4 separate regions of the Homo sapiens genome follow, and all the other regions are linked to region 1. Evidence: promoter capture Hi-C in 16 types of primary human blood cells and fetal thymus (Javierre and others, 2016). All regions are on one chromosome and are shown on one strand. Each heading gives the region's core, a stretch centred on a gene start or on the middle of the fragment in contact. The rest is flanking DNA. Distances are from core to core; before and after follow the strand shown. Region 1 holds the start of TAS2R13 (taste 2 receptor member 13). Region 2 overlaps LOC107987435 (a long non-coding RNA gene). Region 3 overlaps SMIM10L1 (small integral membrane protein 10 like 1). Region 4 holds the start of PRB4 (proline rich protein BstNI subfamily 4).

The links. Contacts are between HindIII fragments. The CHiCAGO score rates a contact against its expected background, and 5 or more counts as called.
Region 2: a contact is called between a fragment that was not itself captured here and the fragment with the promoter of TAS2R13 in region 1, in 1 of 17 cell types (endothelial precursors). The highest score is 5.4, in endothelial precursors.
Region 3: a fragment that was not itself captured here is called in contact with the fragment with the promoter of TAS2R13 in region 1 in 1 of 17 cell types (M1 macrophages); the score reaches 5.2 in M1 macrophages.
Region 4: the fragment with the promoter of PRB4 here is called in contact with the fragment with the promoter of TAS2R13 in region 1 in 16 of 17 cell types (naive CD8 T cells, total B cells, activated CD4 T cells and 13 more); the score reaches 18.3 in naive CD8 T cells.

The regions. Positions count from the first base shown.
Region 1 is chr12:10,907,574-10,911,049 of GRCh38, forward strand. It overlaps TAS2R13 (taste 2 receptor member 13), which reads right to left and starts at 1,989. Exons shown (of 1, transcript NM_023920.2): 1 at 353-1,989. The coding sequence starts at 1,725. The coding sequence ends at 814. All of the region lies in intron 4 of PRH1-PRR4 (PRH1-PRR4 readthrough), which reads right to left. It also overlaps a transcript of PRH1 not described here. The HindIII fragment of the contact is 14,745 bases long and covers 1-2,177 here.
Region 2 is chr12:11,202,762-11,206,048 of GRCh38, forward strand. All of the region lies in intron 1 of LOC107987435 (a long non-coding RNA gene), which reads left to right. Among named protein-coding and RNA genes, the nearest start is that of TAS2R42, 17 kb to the left of the region's middle. The HindIII fragment of the contact is 1,857 bases long and covers 846-2,702 here.
Region 3 is chr12:11,173,615-11,176,790 of GRCh38, forward strand. SMIM10L1 (small integral membrane protein 10 like 1) reads left to right here. Exons shown (of 1, transcript NM_001271592.2): 1 at 1-2,402. Among named protein-coding and RNA genes, the nearest start is that of PRH1-PRR4, 3.6 kb to the left of the region's middle. The HindIII fragment of the contact is 3,407 bases long and covers 1-3,138 here.
Region 4 is chr12:11,308,907-11,312,349 of GRCh38, forward strand. PRB4 (proline rich protein BstNI subfamily 4) reads right to left here and starts at 1,530. Exons shown (of 4, transcript NM_002723.6): 1 at 1,429-1,530; 2 at 464-499. The coding sequence starts at 1,492. The HindIII fragment of the contact is 5,809 bases long and covers 1-2,116 here.

The DNA.
Region 1 (3,476 bases), core at 739-3,238:
GCATAAAATTCTAGAAATCAAAAACTCTCTTATTGTTACCAAAAGCAGATAAGTAGTTGCTTGGGAAAAAGGGCTGGAGGGGAGAGGGTAAACTGCAAAGGGCACTGACATTGTGGTCACACAAGTGTATACATTGTCAAAACTCTAACTGAAATGTGGACTAACATGTTGCATTTTATTATATGTAAATTATACCTCAATAATATTTACTTTAAAAGGCATAATGTAAAATATGTATGTACACATACATACAATATAATTACTAAAAAACCGTTATCTTTTTATGTGGCAGTTACTCATATTAAACTTTTTAACCCTCTCAATTCTCTCAACACATCAGTATAGTAATAGTGGCAAGTCCAAACTTCCCTAATTCTATTCCAAATAACTGTTCTAATTATCTGTAGCTCACCATTTAAATAGGAGTACTTGAGATAATAAAATAATTACCTAAATCACCCATCTCAATGAATGATTTAGAATTGAAGAGCCATTGCCAAACAAAAGATTGTAGATTTACAATTAACATCTAAGTATGCTGTAGTATATGTTTTTAATTTACAATAGAATCTGCCAATAATTTCCTCAAATAAGTTTCAAATTCCTAATAATGTAGAAATACATGTCATAAATACATAATATTCTTAGGTAAGATGCTATTATAGAGAAGAATTTAAAACATTTACAGTGACCTTCACAATAAAAGAAACCAGGGGAAGCATAAAATATCTTTTAAACTCCTTGTAGACTCCTGTTTCTGTCTGCAATATTCAATAATCTGTGGTCTGAATGGCTTATGAAATTGTGAGTTTCTCATCGTTTAGCCCATACCTTAGCTGCCACCAAAAGAAAGGCCTGTCTTAACTTAGCGTTTCCTAGAATCAGAAGAAAGGAGTGGCTTGAAGGAGAGAAGACTCCAATCGTCTCACAAAGCATGTAGATCACTGTGTTCTGATACAGCTCAGAAATCCATGATATGAGAACACATAGAAAGAAACTAGCATAGAATAAAAGGAATGAGATCACAATTTTCAAGGCATTTGTATGGACCTTGGTCCTGGGGTCTCTGTGTCCTTTGTAATTGAGTTGCATTTTCTGGAGATGTTTCTGCAGGGAGAAAATTAACAGGAGAAAAGAGATGAAGGCCACAGTAAATGGTGTTAGACTGAACATAGTCATAGTGAATTTGACCGACACTGAAAATGTTTCAAAGTCACTCATACTGAAATTCCAAGTTGTGTTTCTTTCATATCGGTCCAGCCAGTCTTTTATATGCATGTTTATTTGTATCAGATTTAAAAATAAGAAGACCAAGGTTCCTAGCAGTATCATCAGAATCACTTTGTTTACTCTCCACTTCAAATAGAGAAAAGCAGGGCTAGAGAAACTCGCTATTTTGAGCAAATAAAAGATGCTGAAGATTGTAGCAAGCCAGAGATTGAAGTGATTAGAAACTATCCAGCTAAAAATCATAATTCTTAATCCTGTTCCAGACACAAATATGGCTAGATAATGCAGAGCTAAAAACCAACTTACTAATATTTCCCAGATCAGCCCAATTCTGGAGATTGCCAAGATAATGAGGAGTTTATCGACTGAGGACAGCTCTCTTTTACTGACCCAGTCAATGCAGTTGATCAGTACTATAAATCCATTGCTCAAATTCCCAATTATGAATTCTGCAATTATTACAAGAGTGAAGATACTCGGCAGGGCACTTTCCATGTCAGAACAGAGAAAGTTCAATGTCTAATGTCACTGCTGGTTATTCACTGATCTAAAATGCTATTCACATCCTTGAGTGTCCAGTGGAGTTCTTCTTCCTTCTCCTTTTTCTGCTCCTTCTTTCATTGTTGGCTCAACGTCAAAGCAGAAATCTCTAAAGTTTGCTGATCGATCTTCACATAACTGTTCTGGTGATATCTTTATTTTTCTTCAATTTCTCTGCTGAGCCCTAGCTAAGATATTTATGTCTTCACCATGGGCAGAAATATTTCATAGATGATTATGCAGCAAAGTTAAACTCACATTTGCAACCATGCAAATAAAGATATATTCTCTTTCATTGTTTTGTACTTTTTTGCCTTGTCTGAGCATAGAAAATTAGATTCAACCAGCTTGAGTTCTGAGGTACAAATATTATAAAAATCTGATTCATAGAATATGTAGCTAAATGAAGCTTTTATGGCTAATAGCATAGCCAATGAAGCTTTATAAAATATGCAAAGACTTACCTATGCTATTTCAAAAGAGTGCTCAATTTCTTGTGGAGCTAAAGCTGGATCTGGTCAATACTGTGACTAAAGAGAAACTCGTTTACAAAGCATCCATCTTTCTCATTCCCTGCCTCATCACTACTTAGCAGTGCTCACCACCATCCCTCCATAGGCACCAAATGCCTTCACATTTTATCCGCTTTTCCCCTCATATTTCTTTTTTAAACTTAAAAGTGATAAAAAAACAAATTTTACAAAATCAGCAACAGCTACCAAAGAAAGCAGTACTATATTACATCATAACTTGCAAAACTGAAAACCAAGCAAAGAAATAGATACACTAGTTCCCCTTATCCATGAGGCCTATGTCCCAAGACCCCCAGTGGATGCCTAAAACAGCAGATAGTACCAAACTCTATATACAATATATTTTTTTCCTGTATTCACCTACCTATGATAAAGTTTAATTTGTAAATCAAGCACAGTAAAAGATTACAAAAATAACTAATAATAAAATAGAACAATTAAAACAATATACTATAATAAAAGTTGCCAGGGGTTGTGGCTCATCCCTGTAATCCTAGCAATTTGGGAGATTGAGGCGGGAGGACCGCTCGAGCCCAAAAGTTTGAGACCGGCCTGGGCAACATAGGGAGACCCTGTATCTAAAATAAATAAAAATTAAAAAAATAAAAAGTAAAAAAATGTGTTAAAATATATAGTGTGGTGTCTCTCACTCTCTCAAGATACCTTACTGTACTGTACACACCTATTTTTGGACTGTGGTTGACCTTGGGTCACTGAAACTGCAGATAAGCGGGGACTAATGTGTTCATTGTGAAGAGTCAAGGTTCCTCACCCCGCCCCACTCTTTCAAAAACTACCGAAAAAAAGTGGATTACCAAAATTCTGAAAACGTGGAGACTCAAGAAAGATTGTCTAATTCAAAATTAATATAAATAAAACACTTTATCTTGATTATAAGATAATAAGTAGCCATTTAGCTAGATGAATACAAAGCTATTTTTATTTAATAAAGATATAATTTGTGAATTATGAATGTTTGTATTTTATTACTCATGCAATCTTTATTGGGTGATCTACAGAGTACTAAAAAATTTACAAAATAATTGCATCATCTTTAATGATTTGCAAGTTTCAATTATAACTTAAAATAGGTAGATATTTTCTATTTTGTTGTTATAATGGTATATTTGTCAAGATAGAATAGAAAATGTCTCCTTTAACAGTTTGTTAGGT
Region 2 (3,287 bases), core at 524-3,023, 290 kb after region 1:
AGAAATAAGCCAGGCACAAATATGATGCCACTTATATGAGGCACTTACAATAGTCAAATTTGTAGAGACAGAAAGTAGAATGGTGGTTGCCAGGGGATATAAAAGGAGGAAATATCATATCATAATATCATATAGAATTCTGGATTACATAAGTTCATCTCTTTGGGATATAACTAGGCAGAATCACTGATTCCATTTGCTAATTGCTAAGTAGTTTACCTCCAAGTGTTGCAATGATTTCCAAACATCCAAACATTGCTACTGGTTGAATCACTGAGGAACTTGCTAAAAATACAGATTATAGGGTCTAAACTATGATCTCATAAATCAGAATCTCTACAGTTAGGGCTTAAGAATTTTATTTTGTTTAAGATACCCCCAATCTTTATTCTGATGTAGCTGGTCCAGTAAGATTGACATTTCTTAATCAACACATTAGGCATCCCAGTAACAAAATACAACAATAACTTTGTGCATTAAGTTGGAAACCATGACAAAATTTTCATTTTAATATGATGGTTTTTCAGAATGAATGATTTCAGGATCTTTGCCAAAGTCTCATGCTTCTGTTTCCAAAAAGCCCCAGCAAATGTTTACCTCAACCCATTAAGTAGGCTAAGTGCCAATTAATAAATAGAGATGAAAGTGGCATGTGAAAAACCAAAACTTTATGGATAGGCACTGAGAATCTTCCTCTGTGGAGGACAAAGAAGATATTATTCTTCTAGGTCATTATAAACAGGCTAGATGGCCCTTAACCATATAAAAAGACATTTGAATTCACTTATAAGAGAAAAGCAAATTAAAACTGTGCCTCATTTGTCACGTTGGCAAAAAGTTCTAAAAGCTTGTCAACCTATTTTGTTAGTGAAATAAGAAATAAAAACATTCATTGCTGGTGTTTGCAAATCAGTATAATGCTTTTAGAGATGTTAAAAAACAAAATTTCAACAAACTGATTTCAAAGATTTAATTGGCTTTTATTATCAATTATGAATTGGGCTGCATTCCATCTATAAAACAGAAAAATGCTCCATGGGCATAGCAGAACGATTAATATGTGTAAGGGAGTTTGAGCAGAAACAAGGAAATAGCATAATACAACAAAGTGGATTGGTTAACTTAGGGTTACTTTCCTTGAAAGGGTTAAAACAAGGGGTACTTTCATATCATGCCAGCCTAGGTTTACTGGGACCTTTTTAACTGGTTACTGTGAATCTCCTGTTTTTTGTTTTTTTGGGGATTTTTTTTTTTTGGAAAATTTGGCCTGATGGGAGATTTTCCTGTTTTTTAAAGTTTCAGTTTGACTACATGGCTCTTGTCAAGAGTGACTCCATTTTGGTTTGTCCTGTTGGGGGCTAGTGCAGGAATTCAACCCAAAACAATGACCTACCATACATTTTATTTAACAGAAGGAAAATGAGTAATATTTAACAAAACTGCATGTGTGTTTATTTTTGATCCAGCATTTCTTCATCTAGGAATTTATTCTAAACATGTACCACTAACAAAGAAATAAGCATGGACAAACTTACTCATTACAGCATTGTTTGTACTCACAAAATATTGGAAACAACCTAATTGCCCATACATAGGAGAGTGGTTAAATTAACTATGGTATGTCTACGTAAGGAAGTACTAAGCAGCTATAAAAAAGAATGAGGATGATCTCTATGAACTGATGTGGAACGTTCTCTAGGGTACATTGTAAAGTAGAAAAAGCAAAGGGGAAATGCATATACGCCACCATTTTTGTAAAAAAAAAAAAAAAGAAGGGACATAAGAATATATCCATAAATATGCTTATTTTTGCATAAAGAAATACATGAGAGCTGGTCAGGCATGGTAGCTCACTCCTGTAATTCCAGCACTTTGGGAGGCCAAGGCTGGCAGATCACAAGGTCAGGAGATCTAGATCAGCCTGGCCAATATGGTAAAACCCCATCTCTACTAAAAATACAAAAATTAGCCAGGTGTGATGCTGTGTGCCTGTAGTCCCAGCTACTCAGGAGTCTGAGGCAGAAGAATCACTTCAACCCAGGAAGCAGAGGTTGCAGTGAGCCAAGAGTATACCACCACATTCCAGCCTGGGCAACAGAGTAAGATTCTGTCAAAAAAAGAAAAAAGGAAAAGAAAGGAAAAAGAAATACAGGAGAGCTAAAATAGATATTAATAAGATTGGTTACCTACAGGAAGTGGGTGGGAATGGAATTTAAGGGATTGAGGATTGGGAGAGTACACGATTTTACATAGTTTTGATTTGGGGGTACCATGTTAATGTTTCATGTACTCAAAAGTGCCTAAAATCAACAAGGATGGTAACATGAAATAAAGTAGAATTTTAAAACAAAAAAAAAACAAATAAACTTAAATATTGCAAATGAATAGCATAACCAAACTGAAAGAAAAAAGTAACTGACTTATCTTGCAACATAGTACTTGGACTATACTCCCCAAGTCTAAAGACAAAAAAAAAATACTAAATAAATATTAAGCTCTAGTTAATGTTATCCCCTACCCTCCAGTGATATGGATTAGCAATTCTAAAACTACTTTTTGATATTCTAAGGTGGGACAAATGTATACAGTCAGCCATGCATTTCTGTGGGTTTGTTTTTCTTTTTTAACCTTCACCAGTTTATTATAAAGGATATTACTAAGGATACAGTTGAAGAGATGCATTAATGGGGGAAGGAGCCTGAAGCTTCCACGCCCTCCCTGTGCATACTGCCCTCCTGGCAGCTCTCCAAGCCTGTCTTCTTGTGTTTTTGTGGAGGTTACATAGGCATGATTGATTAAACCATTGGCCATTGGTGATCAACTTGACCTTCAGCCCTTCTCCCCTCCCTGGAGGTTGGGGGATGGGGCTGAAGGTCTCAACCCTCTAATATTGTCTTTGGTCATTCTGGTGACCAGCCTCACTCTGAAGTTATCAGTCAATATAAGTATAAAAAAAAGCAAGCACTTTGGAGAGTACAAGGATTTTAGGAGTTGTATGTTAGGAAACTGGGGAGGAAGACCAAATGCATATTTCACAGTATCACATCCTCACATCTGCCAAACCTAATTGAACATCTGAGGATTTTGGTATCCACAGGGGTCATGGAACCAATCCACTGTGGACACTGAGGGATGACTGTAAATATATTAAGCATAATGGAAGCCAAGTTTCTTGAAGGGAACTGTAAATGTAGAAAGGGCAAGAGTAGCATGTGGTCTTGAATTGGAATTGAAGAATATTAGTCTGTTCTCACACTGCTATAAAGAACTGCCCAAGACTGGGTAAA
Region 3 (3,176 bases), core at 185-2,684, 270 kb after region 1:
CTGATGTCCCAATTTGTAACACAAAAGACTGTCTAGTCTTAATCCTGAAATGGTGACAGAGTAGGATGCTCCATTTGGGTGACTATGTGAACATATTCCTATAACTTTTTTCCTCACATCAGTCATTTGTTAAACCGAAGATGAAGAAACAGACTTTGTATTTATTACATCCTCCAACATAATTGGCAGCTCTGTGAGGGAAGACACTATATCCTATTCAATTTTACACCCGGTAGTAACAGTATGTGTGTGTACTGTATATATACATATATATATACATACACATATATAAATTTAAGTAGTAACTATATATGTATATATGTATAGTTACTACTTACTATATATGTATACAGTATATAAGTATATATGTATAGTTACTACTTACAATATATGCATAAAGTTACAGCTTACATTTACCTCGTAATATATGTATATATATATATTAGGAGTTAAATGTATTAGGAGGTAAATGTAAACTCTGTGGTTTATCATTTATTCACAATTGCTCTTAATTCTTGGGGTATAGTTTGCCTCCTACATGATGCAATTCAGTGAAATTCCCAGGAGACAAAACAAGATTTTGACCTGAATAAACCACTTATTGTTGTAATTCACAAGTGAGTTTATTCTTCCTGGCACACTTCCAGGTAATATCCATTAGGCTAAGGATTTTGTTTGTTCACTGTTCTATCCCCAAGCCTAGAGCACTGCCCAGTGCGGAATAGCTAATAAATATTGTTGAATGGATAGATGAATGGCAATTTTGTTGGTATGCTCTACATAGTCAGCAGTCAATAAAGGAAACATATATTCGTTCCTGATAATAAGATGATTCACTTTATTGCCCATAAATTGGGCTTTTTCAGGCCATCATGCACGTTGATTGATCCAGAGATCCCTCAAGCATGAAAAAGCAGAGACATAGGTGGTATAGTTATTATCAATAGAGATAAGAAATGTAGCTGGCAAAAAAAAAAATGGGAAACGATGCGTTACAGCTTATTTTAACTATAAAAGGAAAACAGTGAACATAGCAACATATGTAACCTAAGGGATAGGGGAAAAGTTGTTTTTTTTTTTTTAATTCTGGGTAAAAATACATGTGATTACTTGACAAATAGCATATCATTACCATCAGCATCATTTTTAAAATATATTGAGTTTTTAATACCAGGAACTATGAAAAACTATTTATATACATGAGCTCCGTAATTCTCACATATACCCTGTGAGGAAAACATTTTTATCATTTTTCAGAGAAGCAAACCGGGATTTAGAGAGGTTAAGTAAATTCCTAAGGTCATGATAACCAACCAGACCTCAAATGAATCTCCAGTAATTCCTAAAGTTATATTTCATAAGGAGTTCAATTTTCTTAAATGTGTAGATAATTACAAATAATTCTGTTTCTCAAATTTCTGGACAGAAATATTACCTGGGTAATAGTTATTTTTTTTAACATAACTATTGAGGGTCTTTCATACTAAAATATAAATATTTAACATGATTTGATATGTAAGTTCAAGTATTTTATACTCTCTGCAGCCTTAAACCTATTGGCTTATTTTATTAGAGGGTTGGTGGGATTGAGGGATATGGGAGCAAAGGGAGAGAGAGGAAAGAACGTTGTCCTCAGAATGGAAGGGAAACACTTTCCTGTGCTACCCAGAGTAGAGATCAGACAATGTTAAATTTTGAAGCCATGTCTGTTCCTGTCCTGAGGATCCCTAACTAAATTTTGTTAGAAAATCTTGCAGTTTGCTTTTAATGGGAGATCTTTCTGGCAGGACATCAATAGCTTTTGATAGCGTCAAGAAGAAAATAAAGTTACATGCAGAAGCATAAAGGGGTAGGATGAAAGTTGAGGAATATAGGGACAAAAGATGAGGGAAAGGAATATCCTAATACTTGGAAGTTTGAGCATGGAAAGTAGTCTAAAGACGACTTGGGAAGTTCCAAGAAAATGAACCAAGAAAAGAACCTCTGCAAGAACTATGAGAATTCCCAACAATTGGGTTGGATTGATTCATATTAGTCTATTACTTGGGTTACCTTGAGTGTGGGGATTCTTCTTGCAGTTTTAACACTTGTACTATGGTCTGAATGTGCCCCCCAAAAATTCACATGTTGGCATTTAACCCCCAAAGTGATGATCTCAGGAGATGGGACCTTTGGGAGGTGATCAGGTCATAAAGATGAAACCCTCGTGAATGGGATTAGTGCCTTTATAAAGGAGACCCCAAAATAATTCCCTTACCCCTTTTGCCATGTAAGGTTATAGGGAAAAGTCATCTATGAACAAGGAAATGAACCCTCACCAGATACCAAATTTGTGAATGCCTGGATCTTGGACTTCCCAGCTTCTAGAACTATAAGAAATAAATTTCTGTTGTTCATAAGCACCCATTTTATGGTATTTTTTATAGCAGCCTGAACAAACTAGACTTAATAGGATTTGCTCAGCAGGATTACCACCAGGTCAAGTCATGAGATCTTTTCAAAATATAAGTAAACCTCCCCTTACCCCTACTCTCCACAAATACAAATTTCAGCAGTGCTCTTGGGACAACTAAAAGGCCCAAGGACCTTCCCAAAAGCCTACTACAAATGAAGAAACTATGGAAGTCTTAGTAGCTTAATTGCAGGACATCCCTGCCAGTTTCTATCCTGATTAGGGATCTGCAATGAACATTACAAAATCTTCACCATCTCCATGGCTTTCAACACCAAGCATATGGACTTAGCCACTGTAAAATAGTGGCATGCATCAATGAACAATAAAGAGAAATGGAGATCATTCATATTATTAGTGAGGGAAGTTGGGTACAACTTTTCATCAGCCAAAAAGAGGGAGAAAAAAATCACACCACCAAATAATGAAATACTGTAACTAAGATCATTGGCAGAGAATTAGAGATTATGTTCAGCAGATTAAAAAAAAAAAGAAAACAGCTGTGATCATGCCACTGCACTCCAGCCAGGGCTGCAGAGCAAGACCCTGTCTCAAAAAAACAAAAAGCCAAAAATACGAGATGCTTAAAAAAAGAACTGTTGTTCAAGAGATCATTTTCACTTTTTAATTGGTTTTTGAAAACTGTGAAAGTATCTCAAACTGAAGTCTAAAAGGAAAATAATAGAAGCTTCAAAGTTCAGGGGCCAGGTTATATCTATATAAA
Region 4 (3,443 bases), core at 280-2,779, 400 kb after region 1:
CATTCACTGAATAGTTGCCACAAATTTTTACAGTAATGGAGCTAAATGGGGAAATGCACAAAAATGAGACCCAGATACTAATTTCTTTGCATTTTCAGTGAAGCCCTAGAACTCTGGAGTGGAACGCTGGGGGAAAAGGGAGAAGTTGAGGGGCTCTCAGTCTAAGGAGGAGTCAGAATAAGGACACTGGCCATTTGTCTGTCATCTCCCAGGAGGCACTCCTGGCCAGGGGGATGTCAACCCACTCCTGTTGTCATCTAAGCCAAGCATCTCTGACATTCCATTTGGTGGCCTGCTCATGGTCCCCAGAATCAAGTTTGCATGAAGATTGCCTATATCATTAGGGGCAATAACATTAATCAATTCCTGAAAGGAAAGTGTTGATAAGAAGACACTGGAGAAATGATCCATTTGTAAGCAGAAAAAGGGAGTCAAAACAGATTGAGAATGAATTGGGATTTACCTGATATTAGGAAGAGAGATTCTTCCTGGCTGACATCTAGAAGAGAAGCACAGGATGATGGGAAATGTTACATCTCAAATCTTCAAGACTCACAAGTGTTCTACAGGGAAAATTGTCTTCTCACCACACCCCATGCATCCCCTAGGTTAACTCATCAGCCACCATCTGTGAAGGTGCTGGAAGGGGTGGAAGGTGTAAGAGGAGGCAGGGTTGTTACCACACAGAGCAACAGCAATGAGTTCAACATAGAACAGCCCCTTTTTTTCCTCCCTAGCATCCCTCAAGACTTAATGCTTATTTAGTTTATGCATGCCAGGTACTTCAATGTGATATTTTGGTGTTCTTATGCCCTCCATCTCCTGTTAATATATTGCATACATACACATGTTTTCTCAATAGGGGTAACCAGAAGTAATCATTTCAATACAATCTAACCCATTCCACTCCCAGCACATTGAAATACTGCATGTAGGGGAGAGAAAAATTGTAATGATTGGCTCTGATATTTCTACATCTTTAGTTAGACAGAGACAAGTGTTCTATCCAGTTCTGTCTCTGCAGTATCTCTGATGTGTATGTATCTCTATCATCAATGCCGACTGTCTGTACAGCAAGGCCACCATCATCCCTGTGTACTTACTGGGATCAGTATAGGATCTTCACAGCTGGACTTCCCTGAATCTGCCTTGCACTCTCCACTGCAGCCTTCACAGCACAGTTCTATCTCTATAAATTCAAATCTTACCTTCTCATTCCCCTGGAACAAATTCGTTATTGGATTTCATTGTACATTAAATAAATTAGAAGTCCTTATTGTGGAATGAGGGCACAACAGGTCTCCTGATCCTAGGCATGAAAACTCTGCAGCCCCATCTGTGTTTTCATTCTCCTCTCTTCCCCATAATTACCACTGTCACCTCCTAAGTCCCAAGCAGTCACCGCATCTTTTCCCCCTTCTGTTTTACCTTCACTTGAACTCTCAGCTGAGCTCAGGGCCAGCAGGGCCACTGACAGCAGAATCAGCAGCATCTCGCTGGAGGCTCTGGAGTCACTCCCAACTCTGTGCTGGGAGGAACGTGGCAACTCCCTTTATAAAGAGGAGCAAAACAATGGCACCTTTGAGCCCTGGGTGGGCCTCACCACCTCAGAGACTGGGTTCTGCTTTCCTTACTGCAGGTCAGGTGTATCCCTTATTTCTCTTTGGGACTCTAGCCCAGAGGGATGGGGTGGGTTGGATGTTGTTTGTGCCTTATTTCTAAAAGGTACGACTATGACTTGAATAAAGGTTCTAAAGGAACTGTGTCCAAGCTATCAGCACTGTGTCATAATTGAACTTCAGACATCATTAGAGTTTCAATCCTTTTGGTAAGACTATGTCTGCTTTCCACTCTACTATTTATTTCTGTGTAATATTTGTGGGGGCAGTGAAGCTACAGCCAGCAGTGAAGATGGTCAATTTCTCTGGCTCTTTATAGAGCCTATTTCCATCTCTTGTGATGTGTGTGTACAGATAGTATCACAATTGGCTAAAGTTTTGATGCGATAGAGATGGTTTCTGTTACCTGTGTGATGGTGTGAAGACAACACACTCCTGGGCACACATAGATGACAGAAAGCTGCCCCACAGCCTGCTCGGGCTACAACTATTGTTCAAGCTTCTGTGGATCTGACTCAGCTCAGGCAAGGCTTGTTGTTGTGCCACACAGGAAGGCCAAAATTGTGTATTTTAAAGTACCTTTAGGGGTTATTAATGCAAAATGTACACAGAAACCATAAGGAAATTTCTAGATCTGAGAAAACTGAATACATAATTCCTTGCGGGAGCCATGCGATATCATGTTGCCAAAACTTCCTTCATGCTCTTCCCTTTGTCCAGAATATTCTATAATATTCACCCTCTGCTTCATTTCTTTTAATAATTGTATTGAATTCCTACCACTTATAATTAAGTGGCTACAATTCTACATTCAAATAGGATAATCAGATACCCTCGTTAAAGCCTAAATTGCATTATATTGGTATTCTTGGTTTAGTCAGTATTTGTGTTACCTGTTTTCTCAGATTGTTCTTCCACAAAGAGTATTTTTCTATAATATTCTGATATGCATTCCTCCCCACCTTCTTTCTGGTTCTTCTTTGTTCATATTTTATTTTCTGAGTCAAGCCCATTATGTGTATTTTTCTTTATGTATCTGGCTTTTTTCCCCATGAATTTGGTGAGATTTCCTTTATTTAATCTTCTAAGTATTAGGATATAGTACTTACCATCTTTGTTTCATTCTTGTCTGTGTAATTTCATAATACGTGTTGTGTTTCCAAAAAGCCCTATCAGAGACCTGCATTGTTAGCACTTCTTTCAGCTACTGATTCTTCGTTATATCTGATAAATACCTGCTTATCAGTTCATGGAATATACAGGTTACTCAGTATCAACAGCTGCCATTTACCACTTAGACCTTCCATGTGTCTTGTGTAATTGTTCACATTTTGTGCATGGCTGGTATTAATTTGAGAACACCTTGGTTGGAGGTATGATGGAGGTAGAGAGGGTATGTGACAGTAAATCCTAAAGACAGGCCTCTTGAACATTGTGGATGAGTAGATCCTGGGCTTTGCAGATGAGAATCTGGGTGGCCCTTCTGAAGAGTTGCAGGTAATAGTACAAGCAGACTTCCTAATAAAAAAGGCTTTGCTACAGATAACTTTGCCCTTGCAAGGGAACCACGAAGATTGGTATTTTCCCTGACAAAAATATACACGTACTTGAAATGGGAATACAACTGGAGATGAGCAATCCTGCTTAGGTGGCTTAAGTTAGACCATCAGGTAACAAAGGAATGTCAGAGAAAAGGAGCAGCAGAGGCCAGGCTGACATTGCCTGATATTGTCACCAACTGAGGTTGCTGCAGCCTGATGCAAGACCGACTTCCCCTTGGCAGGAAGGTACAGGAAGAGAATGAAAACCCCCCTAAAGATCACT